2 separate regions of the Homo sapiens genome follow, and region 2 is linked to region 1. Evidence: promoter capture Hi-C in 16 types of primary human blood cells and fetal thymus (Javierre and others, 2016). All regions are on one chromosome and are shown on one strand. The core of a region is centred on a gene start or on the middle of the fragment in contact, and the rest is flanking DNA. Distances in the headings are between cores, read along the strand shown.

Region 1 (5,751 bases), core at 1,253-3,752:
TTCAGCTGCAGAAGACAAAGCCTAGACATTCTCAAAACCACCACTGTGGCCCCTGCTCCCTCCCAACTTTCCAGGTCTCTTGGCAACCTTTTCCAACCTGGCACTGCCTCAGGCAATAAATTATTGTTGAGACTCCAGAACAGATCTCACCTTCCCCTCAAAAAGTGAATTTATGCCAACTATCGCAACCTGTCCATCCTGCAGTAGGTGGGGCCACGGATAAGGACACCCCTCCCACCAAGCCACTGCCATGCCCCTCAGTTACTACGGATGAGGAAATTCAAGCAACGCTGGTAATGGACCCAAGGTTATGCCCGGCCCCACCTCAGGCTGCCTTGGAACAGCTGCTCCTTCCACCCTTCCCACCCTTTCCCCTCCAGCCTGGGCTAGGCTGCCTGTGCCAAGCTCCTGGCCACCAACTCGCGCCCTCGAGAGGCTTCCAGTCACTCCCCACTCTGCCAGGTCACCACTCAAAGCCCTGTAGCCTGTTCCTGAAAAATCTCCACCAAACTCACTCTCCCAAACCTTCAGAGCCCTGTCCAAAGTCCCAACTCTACACACATCCCTCTTTATTAACAGAATCACCGCAGGGAACCCTCGGATCCCTTTGCATTTTGCAGATAACAAAACTGCCCGGAGAGTTCAAGGGTCTTGTCCAAGGCCACAGAGCGAATCAGTAACAAATCTGGAAAGAAAATCCAGATCTCCAGATCCCACGAAATGCTTCCAACTTCAAGTACCTCCCACCCATTTCACGCACAAAACTTCTGAACAACCCCTTCCCCCCACACACACCCACTCACCACGCTCCTTTCTTTAGCTCTTCCTGCACACACTCAGAGCTCCCCCCTCAACCACACTGGATTTATCCCCCCCCCACAGACACTGACACCTCGCTCGGGGATCCCACTCCACTTCTGATCACCTTTTCACTGCTGTGGGGCCCTACCAAGTTGCCCCCCCCGCCCCCCAAAAAAACAGTGCCACCTGAACACAGTCTCTGCTTCAGGATCCCTTCACCTACCTCCGGTCTCTCCAAAAAAGACACAATTCTTCCTGGACACTCTCAACGCTTCCTCCCCAAACTCATTCTGCCTGCACGACACACACACGCTCTCCAGTCCCGGGACTGCACCTCCAGGAGCCAGCACCCCCTCCTCAAATTCCTTTCTCAGTCTATCCATTACGCATTCCCTTTCTAATGAGACTTTCATTTTCCTAAACGAACCTCTCTCCCATTATCCACCATTCCAGCTCACCCTCCCTCCCACCGATCTCACCTTCTCCCTCTACACTTCCTCATTCTCTCCAACGCTTTAGCTTTTCAGCTTCCCATCAATTCTTTAGAAATCCCTCCCCAAATTATCCCCACTCTCCGTATCCCCTCTACTTCGGCTTCTCCATCCCTCATCAATTCCTCTTATTATTCCTCCTATCTCTTAATCTTCTCCCCTTTGGAACAGGGCACCACAAATAAATCTCACCCCCTTCAAAAACGTCTGATTCACGGGCCCCTTAACTTCTTCCTTCCGCACCCCACCCTCCTCAGACCCCCAGTCCTGGCACCTCTACCCTCCTCACACCCTAAGCCCATGTCTTTTCATGCTCAATTCTACCCTTAGCCCCTGTTTTCATCTTCCCAGCCTCCCTAGTCTTCCCACCCGTCTTCAGACCCCACAATCTCCACTCCATCCTCACACTTGATTCTTCATCCCCTTTATAACTCCCCCAACCTGAGGCTCCCCCAATTCCAATCTCCTTCAGATCTTTCTGCTCTCCAAATAACCAACCCCTCCACACTCAAGCTCCTCCTCACACTTCCCAGACCCAGAAATTCCCTTCTCAGCCTCCCCTGATTCTCCTCCCAGCACCCCCAACCCATGCTCCGACCCTTCAAGCCCGCCTCGGATCCCAGTTCCATTTCAGCCTGCCCAGTCATCTCCTCGGTTTCCCCTAATGGCACGCCCAGACCCTCCAAATCCTTCATCAGCCTTCCCGATTCCTTTTATTTGACTCCCATATTCCCCACCCAGCCGCCAATTCTCTTTTCAGATTCCCAATTCCTTCCTCTAGCTCGGCGATTCCTCCTCAGGACTCCAATTCCCTTCCCGGACCCGCCAATTCCTTCTCGGGACCCCCCCGTTCCCATCACAGACGCTCCAGTTACCTTTCAGGACCTCCCACCCCTCCCCGGGCCCCCTCAGAAAAGCCCCTCCAGCCCGTCCGGCCCGCGGGCCGCGCACCTTGCGCTGCTGCTTCTCCCAGGCCGGGTCCAGCAGCAGGTCCCGGTCCCAGTCGTCCTCCTGGGCCATGTAGTCGCCCATGCTGCCCCCGCCGCCAGCGCCATTGCCCGCGCTGCTGGGGCCGTACTGGTACGACTGGTTCGCCGCGTGGTAGTCCACCATTCCGCCGCCTCTCGCTCGCCCACCAGCCTGTCCGCTCCCGCCTCAGCTCCCGCCCCTCTGCCCGAGCCGCCGCCGCTACCGCCGCTTCAGCTGCTTCAGCCCGCCCTCCGCCCGCGCCTGCGCACTGCCCGCCGCGCCTGCGCACAGCGCCGAGGTTGCCGCCCTCCCGCGCGCGCGCGCCTGCCAAACCAGAAAAGGCACCAAGGCCGCGCTCCGGAGCTTGGCGCCTGCGCAGAGTCCCGCTTCCTGGCCGCCCGACTCAGCCCGGGGGCGAGCCGCGCCCCCTCTCCGGCGTGAACGCGCGCGTCGTTCGCGTATGGGCGGGGCCAGATCATGAATGATTCATAAGGGCAGGCCCCGCCATCGGACCTGAACCAGCTCAGGCTTGGAATGCACTGCACCGGGTTCCCATTCAGCGACACAAATTCAACAAATATTTATTGAACACCTATTCTGTGCCAGACTATGTTTTACGCAGGCACTAAAAACAGAAAAAAATCCCAACTTTCATGAAACTACCTTCTAGTAAAGGAAGCCACATACACACAAATCTACTTTTATTTTTATTATTTTTTGAGACGGAGTCTCGCTCTGTCTCCCAGGCTGGAGTGCAGTGGCGCGATCTCGGCTCACTGCAACCTCCGCCTCCCGGATTCAAGCAATTCTCCTGCCTCAGCCTCCCGAGTAGCTGGGAACACAGGCATGCTCCACCACACCCGGCTAATTTTTGTATTTTTTTAGTAGAGACGGGGTTTCACCATGTTGGCCAGGCTGGTCTTGAACTCTTGAGCTCAAGCGATCCTCCCGCCTCAGCCTCCCAAAGTGCTGGAATTACAGGCGTGAGCCACCGCGCCCAACCAACACACAAATTTTTTTTTTTGAGACGGAGTTTCGCTCTTGTTGCCCAGGCTGGAGTGCAATGGCGTGATCTGGGCTCACTGCAACCTCCGCCTCCCAGGTTCAAGCTATTCTCCTGCCTCAGCCTCCCGAGTAGCTGGGATCACAGGCATGTGCCACCACTCCTGGCTAATTTTGTATTTTTAGTAGAGACGGGGTTTCTCCATGTTGGTCAGGCTGGTCTCAAACTCCCGACCTCAGGTGATCCGCCCACCTCGGCCTCCCAAAGTGCTGGGCTTACAGGCATGAGCCACTGCGCCTGGCCTCAACACTCAAAATTTTAAAAAATATGTAGACAGGCACAGGGGCTCACACCTGTAATCCCAGCACTTTGGGAAGCTGAGGCGGGAGGATGGCTTGAGCCCAAGAGTTCAAGGCCAGCCTAGGCAACATAACAAGAACCTGTCTCTACAAGAAATGTAAAAATTCACTGGGCATGGCTGTGTGCACCTGTAGTCCCAGCTACTCAGGAGGCTGAGGAAGGGACATCACTTGAGCCCAGGAGTTCCAGTCTGCAGTGAGCTGTGATCACACCAATGCACTCCAGAAGCGAAATCCTGTCTCAAAAATATACATAAAAGTAAAAAATAGGTAGTATTGTATATTCCAAGGTGTTGAGTATTTGGAGAAAAATCAAGCATGGGCTGGAATGCAAATAAACTACTCAGGTAGGCTTCATGGAGAAGGCAGACATTTAAACAAAGGTGCGAGCCACTGCATCAGGAAGCATCTTAAATTTAAATATTCAGCCAGGCACTGGTGGCTTACTCTTGCAATCCCAGCACTCTGGGGAGTCAAGGCTGGAAGAGTGCTTGAGCCCAAGAGTTTGAGGCCAGACTGGGTAACATAACAAGATCTCATCTCTACAAAAAAATGTTTACATTAAAAATAAATGGCCGGGCGCAGTGGCTCATGCCTGTAATCCCAGCACTTTGGGAGGCCGAGGCAGGCAGATCACGAGGTCAGGAGTTAGAGGCCAGCCTGGCCAACATGGTGAAACCCCGTCTCTACTAAAAATACAAAAATTAGCCGGGCTTGGTGGCATGCACCTGTAATCCCAGCTACCCAGGGGGCTGAGGTAGGGGAATCACTGGAACTCGGGAGGCAGAGGCTGCAGTAAGCCGAGATCGCGCCACTGTACTCCAGCCTGGGCGACAGAGCAAGACTCCGTCTAAAATAAAAATAAAAATAAATAAATAAATATCCGGCCAGGTGTGGTGGCTCACGCCTGTAATCCCAGCACTTTGGGGGGCCGAAGTGGGCGGATCACCCCAGGTCAGGAGTTCAAGACCAGCCGGGCCAACGACTCCGTCTCTACTAAAAATACAAAATTAGCCAGGCATAGTGGCACATGCCTGTAATCCCAGCTACTCAGGAGGCTGAGGTAGGAGAATAGCTTGAACCTGGGAGACGGAGGTTGTGGTGAGCCAAGATTGCACCATTGTACTCCAGCTTGGGCAACAAGAGCGAAACTCCATCTCAAATAATAATAATAATAAATATCCAAAATAGAGTTCCTGATCTTCCCCCCAAGCTTGGTCATCCCATCCCACAGTCATCCCTCTTCAATTCGTGCACCTCCAGCCTTGCAGTTGCTGAGGCTACAGACCTTGCGGTCATCCTTAATGCCTCTTTGTCTTCACAACCCCATCCAGTTCTTCAGGAAATTCTGTCATTCCATCTTGAAAGAATACACAGAACCCACCCACTTCCCCCTGCCCCACTGCGCCACCCAGGTTCTGTCTACCCTCGCCTCGCCTTCCCTTGGGCCATTGCAGCAGTTCCCCACTGTCTCCCAGCTCCCCCTCCCACCCCCTTCTCTTTCCCAGGAGAAGCTGGAGGGAGCCTGTGAATGAATGACTGAGTCAGATCACATTCCTCCCTCCTCTGTTCAAACCTTCCTGTGGCTCCACGCTCAGGGTAACAGTCAAAGTCAAGGAAAGGAAGAAAGGCTGCAGAGGAGTCTGCCCTGCCCTGCCTTGCCCAGCCCAGCCCAGCCCAGCCCAGTGTTTTTTTCCTTTTTTTTTTTTTATTGGAGGTGGAGTCTCGCCCTGTCACCCAGACCAGAGTGTAGTGGCATGATCTCGGCTCACTGCAACCTCCGCATCCCGAGTTCAAGCGATTCTCCTGTCTCAGCCTCCAGAGTAGCTGGGATTACAGGCATATGCCACCATGCCCGGCTAATTTTTATATTTTTAGTAAAGAGGGGTTTTGCCATGTTGGCCAGGCTGGTCTTGAACTCCTGAGCTCAGGTGATCTGCCTGCCTCAGCCTCCCAAAGTGCAGGGATTACGGGCATGAGCCACTCTACCCGGCCAGCCCAGTGTTTTAGTTTTTTGTTTTTGGAGACAGGGTTCTCAATATTTTGCCCAAGTTGAGCTCAGACTCTTGATTCTCCTACCTCAGCCTTCTGAGTAGCTGCGACTGTGAACACGTACCACCACATCCAG
Region 2 (6,263 bases), core at 3,684-6,183, 270 kb before region 1:
TACCAGGTGTTTTCCATACTCTTAATCCTCACAGCCATTTGTCACACAGGAACAATACAAACCCAATTTTACAGCTGGGAAAAAGTGAGGCCCTAAGAGATTAAAACGGGCCTAAATGGCCGGGTATGGGGGTACGCACTTGTAGTCCCAGCTACTCTGGGGCTGAGGCAGGAAGATCGCTTGAGTCCAAGAGTTTGAGGCTGCAGTTAGCTATGATCGCACCATCACACTGCAGCCTGGGCGACAGAGTGAGACCCTGTCTCCGAGAAAAAACAACCAGAAAAAGTACGTAAGTCTCACAGCCAGGAAGTGGGAGAGGCAAGGTTCGCACCTAGGCAGTTGGTTTTTACCACTCTGTTTGGAGGCCTCTGCCACCAAGAATCACATCTCCCAGCACCTACTGAGTGGCCAGCCTCGGGCTGTCTACATCATGGACAACCAATGAAAGCAACACAATGGATCATTTAATGTTCTTTGAGTGCTAACTCATCTCAGGGAAGCTGCACAACAGCCCTGCCCAGGGAGGTCCTGTTATCATCCCACTTCACAGATGGGGATACTGAGGCTCAGAGGGGGCAGAGATTTTCCCAAGGGCTCACAGCATGTAGGTGCCCAACATTCAGACCCAGGCTGTTCGATTCCCTCAGCTGCTTAGGATCATGGAAGGTTCAGAATGTCAAGGGGCCTTGGTTGCAGGCCCTCAAATGCACACTGATAGACTTTACCTCTCTGAGCTTCCATTTTCGAATCTACAGACAGGGTATATTAGTCCATTTTCTTCTTTTTTTTTTTTGAGACAGAGTCTCACTGTGTCACCCAGACCAGAGTACAGTGGCACGATCTCGGCTCACTGCAACCTCCACCTCCCAGGTTCAAGGGATTCTCGTGCCTCAGCCTCCTGAGTCGCTGGGATTACAGGCACGTGCCACTGCACCCAGCTAATTTTTTTTTGAGACTGAGTCTCGCTCTTCCACCTAGGCCAGACTGCAGTGGCACTATCTCGGCTCACTGTAAGCTTTGCCTCCCGGGTTCACGCCATTCTCCTGCCTCAGCCTCCCGAGTAGCTGGGACTACAGGCGCCCGCCACCGCGCCCAGCTAATTTTTTTTCTGTATTTTTAGTAGAGACCATGTTAGCCAGGATGGTCTCGATCTCCTGACCTCGTGATCCGCCCGCCTCAGCCTTCCAAAGTGCTGGGATTACAGGCGTAAGCCACCAAGCCCGGCCTGATTTTTGTATTTTTAGTACAAGGTTTTAGAGATGAGGTTTCTCCATGTTGGCCAGGCTGCTCTCCAACTGCTGGCCTCAGGTGATCTGCCCACCTCAGCCTCCCAAAGTGCTGAGATTACATTTGTGAACCACCACGCCTGGCCCCATTTTCACACTGCTATAAAGAAAACCTGAGGCCGGGCGCGGTGGCTCACGCCTGTAATCCCAGCACTTTGGGAGGCCGAGGTGGGCGGATCACGAGGTCAGGAGATCGAGACCATCCCGGCTAAAACGGTGAAACCCCGTCTCTACTAAAAATACAAAAAAATTAGCCGGGCGTAGTGGCGGGCGCCTGTAGTCCCAGCTACTAGGGAGGCTGAGGCAGGAGAATGGCGTGAACCCGGGAGGCGGAGCTTGCAGTGAGCCGAGATCCCCCCACTGCACTCCAGCCTGGGCGACAGAGCGAGACTCCGTCTCAAAAAAAAAAAAAAAAAAAAGAAAACCTGAGATCAGGCTGGGCGCGGTGGCTCACGCCTGTAATCCCAGCACTTTGGGAGACCAAGGCAGGTGGATCACAAAGTCAGGAGATCGAGACCATCCTGGCTAACATGGTGAAACCTTGTCTCTACGAAAAATACAAAAAAAATTAGCCGATCGTGGTGGCGGGCACCTGTAGTCCCAGCTACTCAGGAGGCTGAGGCAGGAGAATGGCGTGAACCCAGGAGGTGGAGCTTGCAGTGAGCCAAGATCGCGCCATTGCACTCCAGCCTGGGCGACAGAGCAAGACTCCGTCTCAAAAAAAAAAAAAAGAATACCTGAGACTGGGTAATTTATAAAGAAAAGAGGTTTAATTGACTCACAGTTCCATATGGCTGGGAGGCCTCAGGAAACTTAAAATCATGGCGGAAGGGGAAGCAAGGCACTTTCCCTTCCACATGGTGGCTGGAGACAGCCACAGGGGGTAACTGCCAAATGCTTTTAAACCATCAGATCTCGTGAGAACTCACTATCAGGATAACAGCATGGGGGAAACCGCCCCCAGGACCCGATCACCTCCCACCAGGTCCCTTCCTCAACAGGTGGAATTACAATTTGAGATATTATTTGGGTGGAGACACAGCCAAACCATATCACAGGGTTTACACGAATGCCTACCTCCTAAAGTGGATTTTGAAGAAATCATGGCATGGGAGAGCCCTGTACATAGAGCCTGGCATGGAGGCATCACTTCCTATACGGATCTGCGGCTGTGATTACTGTTAATTATCTTGCCTCCTTGTAGCGTTAGCAATAGAGAAACAGAAACACAGAGTTGCAGAGGGACCCAGCTAGGCACTGACAGAGCAGGAGACTAAGATCCTCTGGCCTTGTTTGACCTTTCACCATTTTTTCTCTTCCCCACCCTCGACTTTGTCAACCTAATCACCCACCCTGTCTCTTTTCTACCAGGCAAACCAGGACAGTGGTGAAGTGCAGCAGGTACTGTGAAGAGTTGATGTCCTATCCAGGGTTGGGGGTGGGCAGGGAGGATACCCTGCCAGTCACGATTCTACTATTGTAACAGAAAACAACTCAAACAGGTTTAAGGGGAAAAAAAAAATAGGCTCTATTGATGCATGAAACTAAAACTGGCTTCAGGTGCGGCTGGATCCAGGTGCTGGCTCCATATTTGGTCCTACGTTCCTCCCATTCCCAGGCCAGCTTTCTCTCCTTGTGTAAGTAGGAGGCAAAGTCAAGCACGCTTTCCTGATAGTTCCAGTTAAAGTCCTGGGGCTGATTCTCATGAGTTCAGCTGACATCAGGTGCCTGTCTCTGAGCCAGTCATTGTGGCCAAGGCAATAGAACGTTCTAGTTGGCCAGGCCTGATTCTTTTCCCCACAAACCTGCCATGTGGTGGTAAGGGAAGTTCTGCGAAGACGTTCAGGATCCTGGGCCTGGAGAAGAGGCATGAATGTCCACCACAGGGGCTCTGCCGGTCAGGATCAAGGTCACACTGGATGAGGGAGTCCTGACCCTCTCCCGGGCTGAGCCCACCTGTGCTGCCCCCAGGACCCCAAGTACCAGGGTCTGCGGGCACGTGGCCGGGAGATCCGGAAGGAGCTTGTTCACCTGTACCCCAGGGAGGCCCAGCTTGAGGAGCAGTTCTACCTGCAGGCGCTGAAGCTGCCCAACCAGACCCACCCAGACGTGGTGAGCACCGTGCTGGGTGGCAGGGAGGCCAGGGGCCCACCTAGTGCCACCTTTCCGTGACTCCTGCTGTCTCCCTGCAGCCCGTCGGGGATGAGAGCCAGGCTCGAGTGCTCCACATGGTCGGAGACAAGCCAGGTGGGCCACACCCCAGGCCTGGGAGCTGACAAGCCCTGCGGTGTGGGGGTTCTGGGGTCTCGGGGTGGGGGCCCCTGGGGTCTGGGAACATGTCTGGAGCCTGGAGAACTCCTGGCGGTACAGGAGGTGGCTCCAGCTTCCTGCCTTGGCCGAGCTCGAGCTGTCTCTGAGAGGCGGTCCTTGGGTTTTCATTCTCTCCCCCTTCACCATTGGGCAGTCTCACCCTGTGTTGTGTGATTGTATCGTATGTGTGTGAGTGTGTGTCGTGTATGTATGTGTTGTGTGACTGTGTGTCATGTGTGTCTGTATCTGTGTGTCTGTATCTGTATGTGTGTGTCTGTATCTGTGTATCTGTGTGTGTCTGTATCTGTGTATCTGTGTGTGTCTGTATCTGTGTGTGTGTGTCTGTGTTTGTGTGTGTCTGTATCTGTGTCTGTGTCTGTGTGTGTGTGTCTATGTGTGTGTCTATCTCTGTGTGTGTATATCTGTGTTTGTGTGTGTGTGTGTCTGTGTGTGTCTATGTATCTGTGTGTATGTATCTGTGTGTCTTTCTCTGTGTCTGTGTGTATGTGTCTGTCTCTGTGTGTCTGTGTGTGTATCTGCATATCTCCGTGTATCTCTGTGTGTATGTCTGTATCTGTGTCTGTGTATCTGTGTCTTTGTGTGTATCTGTGTGTGCGTGTCTGTCTTTGTGTGTCTGTATCCGTGTATCTGTGTGTCTGTCTCTGCGTGTCTGTGTATGTGTCTGTCTCTGTGTGTCTGTATATGTGTGTGTGTCTTCGTACCTCTGTGTGTATCTCTGTGTGTGTATGTATGTGTGTGAGTGTGTGTGTGTCTCTGTCTCTCTCTCTGACCCCCCTGCTTTGGTCCCTGTCTCCGGGGCTTTTTCTCCCCAACTCTGTGCCTCCTCTCTGATTCTCCTCCTCCCTTCCTCGTGGTGTTTCCTTCTCCTCTGGCCTCTCTCCTCTGTTTCTAACTCTGCCTTCCCCACCCCGCGCCCTCTTATTTCCCTCTCTGCCTCCTCTCATTTCCTCTCCCTGTCTCTGTTTTTATCTCCCTCCCTTCCTGTCTGTCTTTTCTTCCCTTTCCCTCCCTTTCCGTGTCTTCTTCTCCCTTCTCTCCTCCTGCCCCTCCTTTATTTTCTCTCACCGTCCCTCCTCTCTGCTGTCTCTGGAAGCTTCTATCTGGGCCCCATCCCTCTCTCCCCGCTGCCTTACACCGGTGCTTTTCACCCACATCCAGTTTTCTCCTTCCAACCTCGGGGCCACCTGGAAATTGGCGAGAAACTCGACATCATCCGTCAGAAGTGAGCCCCTCCCCTGGCTCCCCACGCCCCTCTCCCAGCTGCCTGCACCCCGACAGCTGGCTCCTGCCTCATTGGCCTCAGCGTGAGATGTGGAAATGCCATGAATCTTTGATGCCCCAGCCCCACCCAGCAGCCGGGCCTCTTCCCCCGGGTGTTTTCATCCCCACATTCCCTGCCAGCCTGGCCCATGTGCACCCGCCTGTCTGTCTGTCTCCCAGGCGCCTGTCCCACGTGTCTGGCCACCGGTCCTATTACCTGCGCGGGGCTGGAGCCCTCCTGCAGCACGGCCTGGTCAACTTCACATTCAACAAGCTTCTCCGCCGGGTATGGGCCAAGATAGGAGGGCTGCCTGGAGGGGGTGGCATCGAAGCTGAGCTCAGAGGGCCCAACGGGGATGGGAGTGATCTCTGCTCTGCCCTAGTCACTGCTCTCAGAGCTTCATGTGTATCATTGACACATTTAGTCCTTACGACAACTTTATGAAGTGGGTGCTGTCATCATCCCCACTTTACAGAGAGGGCTTGAGGCCCAGAGAGGGGAGGTACCTATAGCCCAAGGTCTCACAGCCAGTCTGGAGCTGGGCCTAGAGCCTGTGCTTGTAATCATTGCACCTCACTGCCTGCTTGCGGTATAAAGGGAGCATTTGGGAATCATAGCATCCATTGAAACATGGCAGGGACTGGTTGCATGGAGCATTGGTCACGGTGAGGAACTCAGACATTTTCAGAGGGTACTAGGGAGCCATGGGAGGCTTTTAAGCAGGGGAGGGTGTGGCCAAATCTGTACTTTTTTGTTTTTTGAGACGGAGTCTCGCTCTGTCACCCAGGCTGGAGTACAGTGGTGCAATCTTGGCTCACTGCAACCTCCACCTCCCGGGTTTAAGTAATTCTCCTGCCTCAGCCTCCTGAGTAGCTGGGATTACAGGCACATGCCACCATGCTGGCTAATTTTTTTTTTTTTCTTTTTGACAGAGTTCGCTCTGTCACCCAGACTGGAGTGCAGTAGCACGATCTCCATGCCGGCTAATTTTTGCCTTTTTAGTGGAGAGGGGGTTTTGCCATGTTGGCCAGGCTGGTCTCAAACTCCTGGCCTCAAGTGATCCGCCCACCTCAGCCTCCCAAAGTGCTGGGATTACATGGGTGAGCCACTGCGCCAGCCCCTGCCTCAGTTTCGTCTGAGGAGGAAGGGGCTCTGCAGCACCCCTTCTTCAGGGCTGAGCTTGGGGTCTGGTAGGGGTCCCAGCTCTGCTCACTCATCCTCTCCCCTGAACAGGGCTTCACCCCCATGACGGTGCCAGACCTTCTCCGCGGAGCAGTGTTTGTGAGTGAGGCCTCTCCGCTTCCCTCGCCCACCTGGGTGTCAGGCCCTGCCGTGGGTGCCCGAGGCAGGGAAACCTGAGGAGACCGCCCTGGGGCTGGGTTGAG

The links. Contacts are between HindIII fragments. The CHiCAGO score rates a contact against its expected background, and 5 or more counts as called.
Region 2: a fragment that was not itself captured here is called in contact with the fragment with the promoter of ACTN4 in region 1 in 3 of 17 cell types (total CD8 T cells, M2 macrophages and naive CD4 T cells); the score reaches 5.3 in total CD8 T cells.

What each region holds. Positions count from the first base shown.
Region 1 is chr19:38,644,400-38,650,150 of GRCh38, reverse strand. ACTN4 (actinin alpha 4) reads right to left here and starts at 2,502. Exons shown (of 21, transcript NM_004924.6): 1 at 2,244-2,502. The coding sequence starts at 2,405. RefSeq lists an enhancer at 528-822 and silencers at 528-822, 781-979, 2,163-2,242, 2,473-2,662. The HindIII fragment of the contact is 8,558 bases long and covers 1-4,838 here.
Region 2 is chr19:38,918,662-38,924,924 of GRCh38, reverse strand. SARS2 (seryl-tRNA synthetase 2, mitochondrial) reads left to right here. Exons shown (of 16, transcript NM_017827.4): 3 at 2,658-2,687; 4 at 3,258-3,398; 5 at 3,479-3,533; 6 at 4,776-4,839; 7 at 5,058-5,163; 8 at 6,112-6,159. Among named protein-coding and RNA genes, the nearest start is that of SARS2, 9.0 kb to the left of the region's middle. RefSeq lists an enhancer at 5,916-6,263. The HindIII fragment of the contact is 441 bases long and covers 4,713-5,153 here.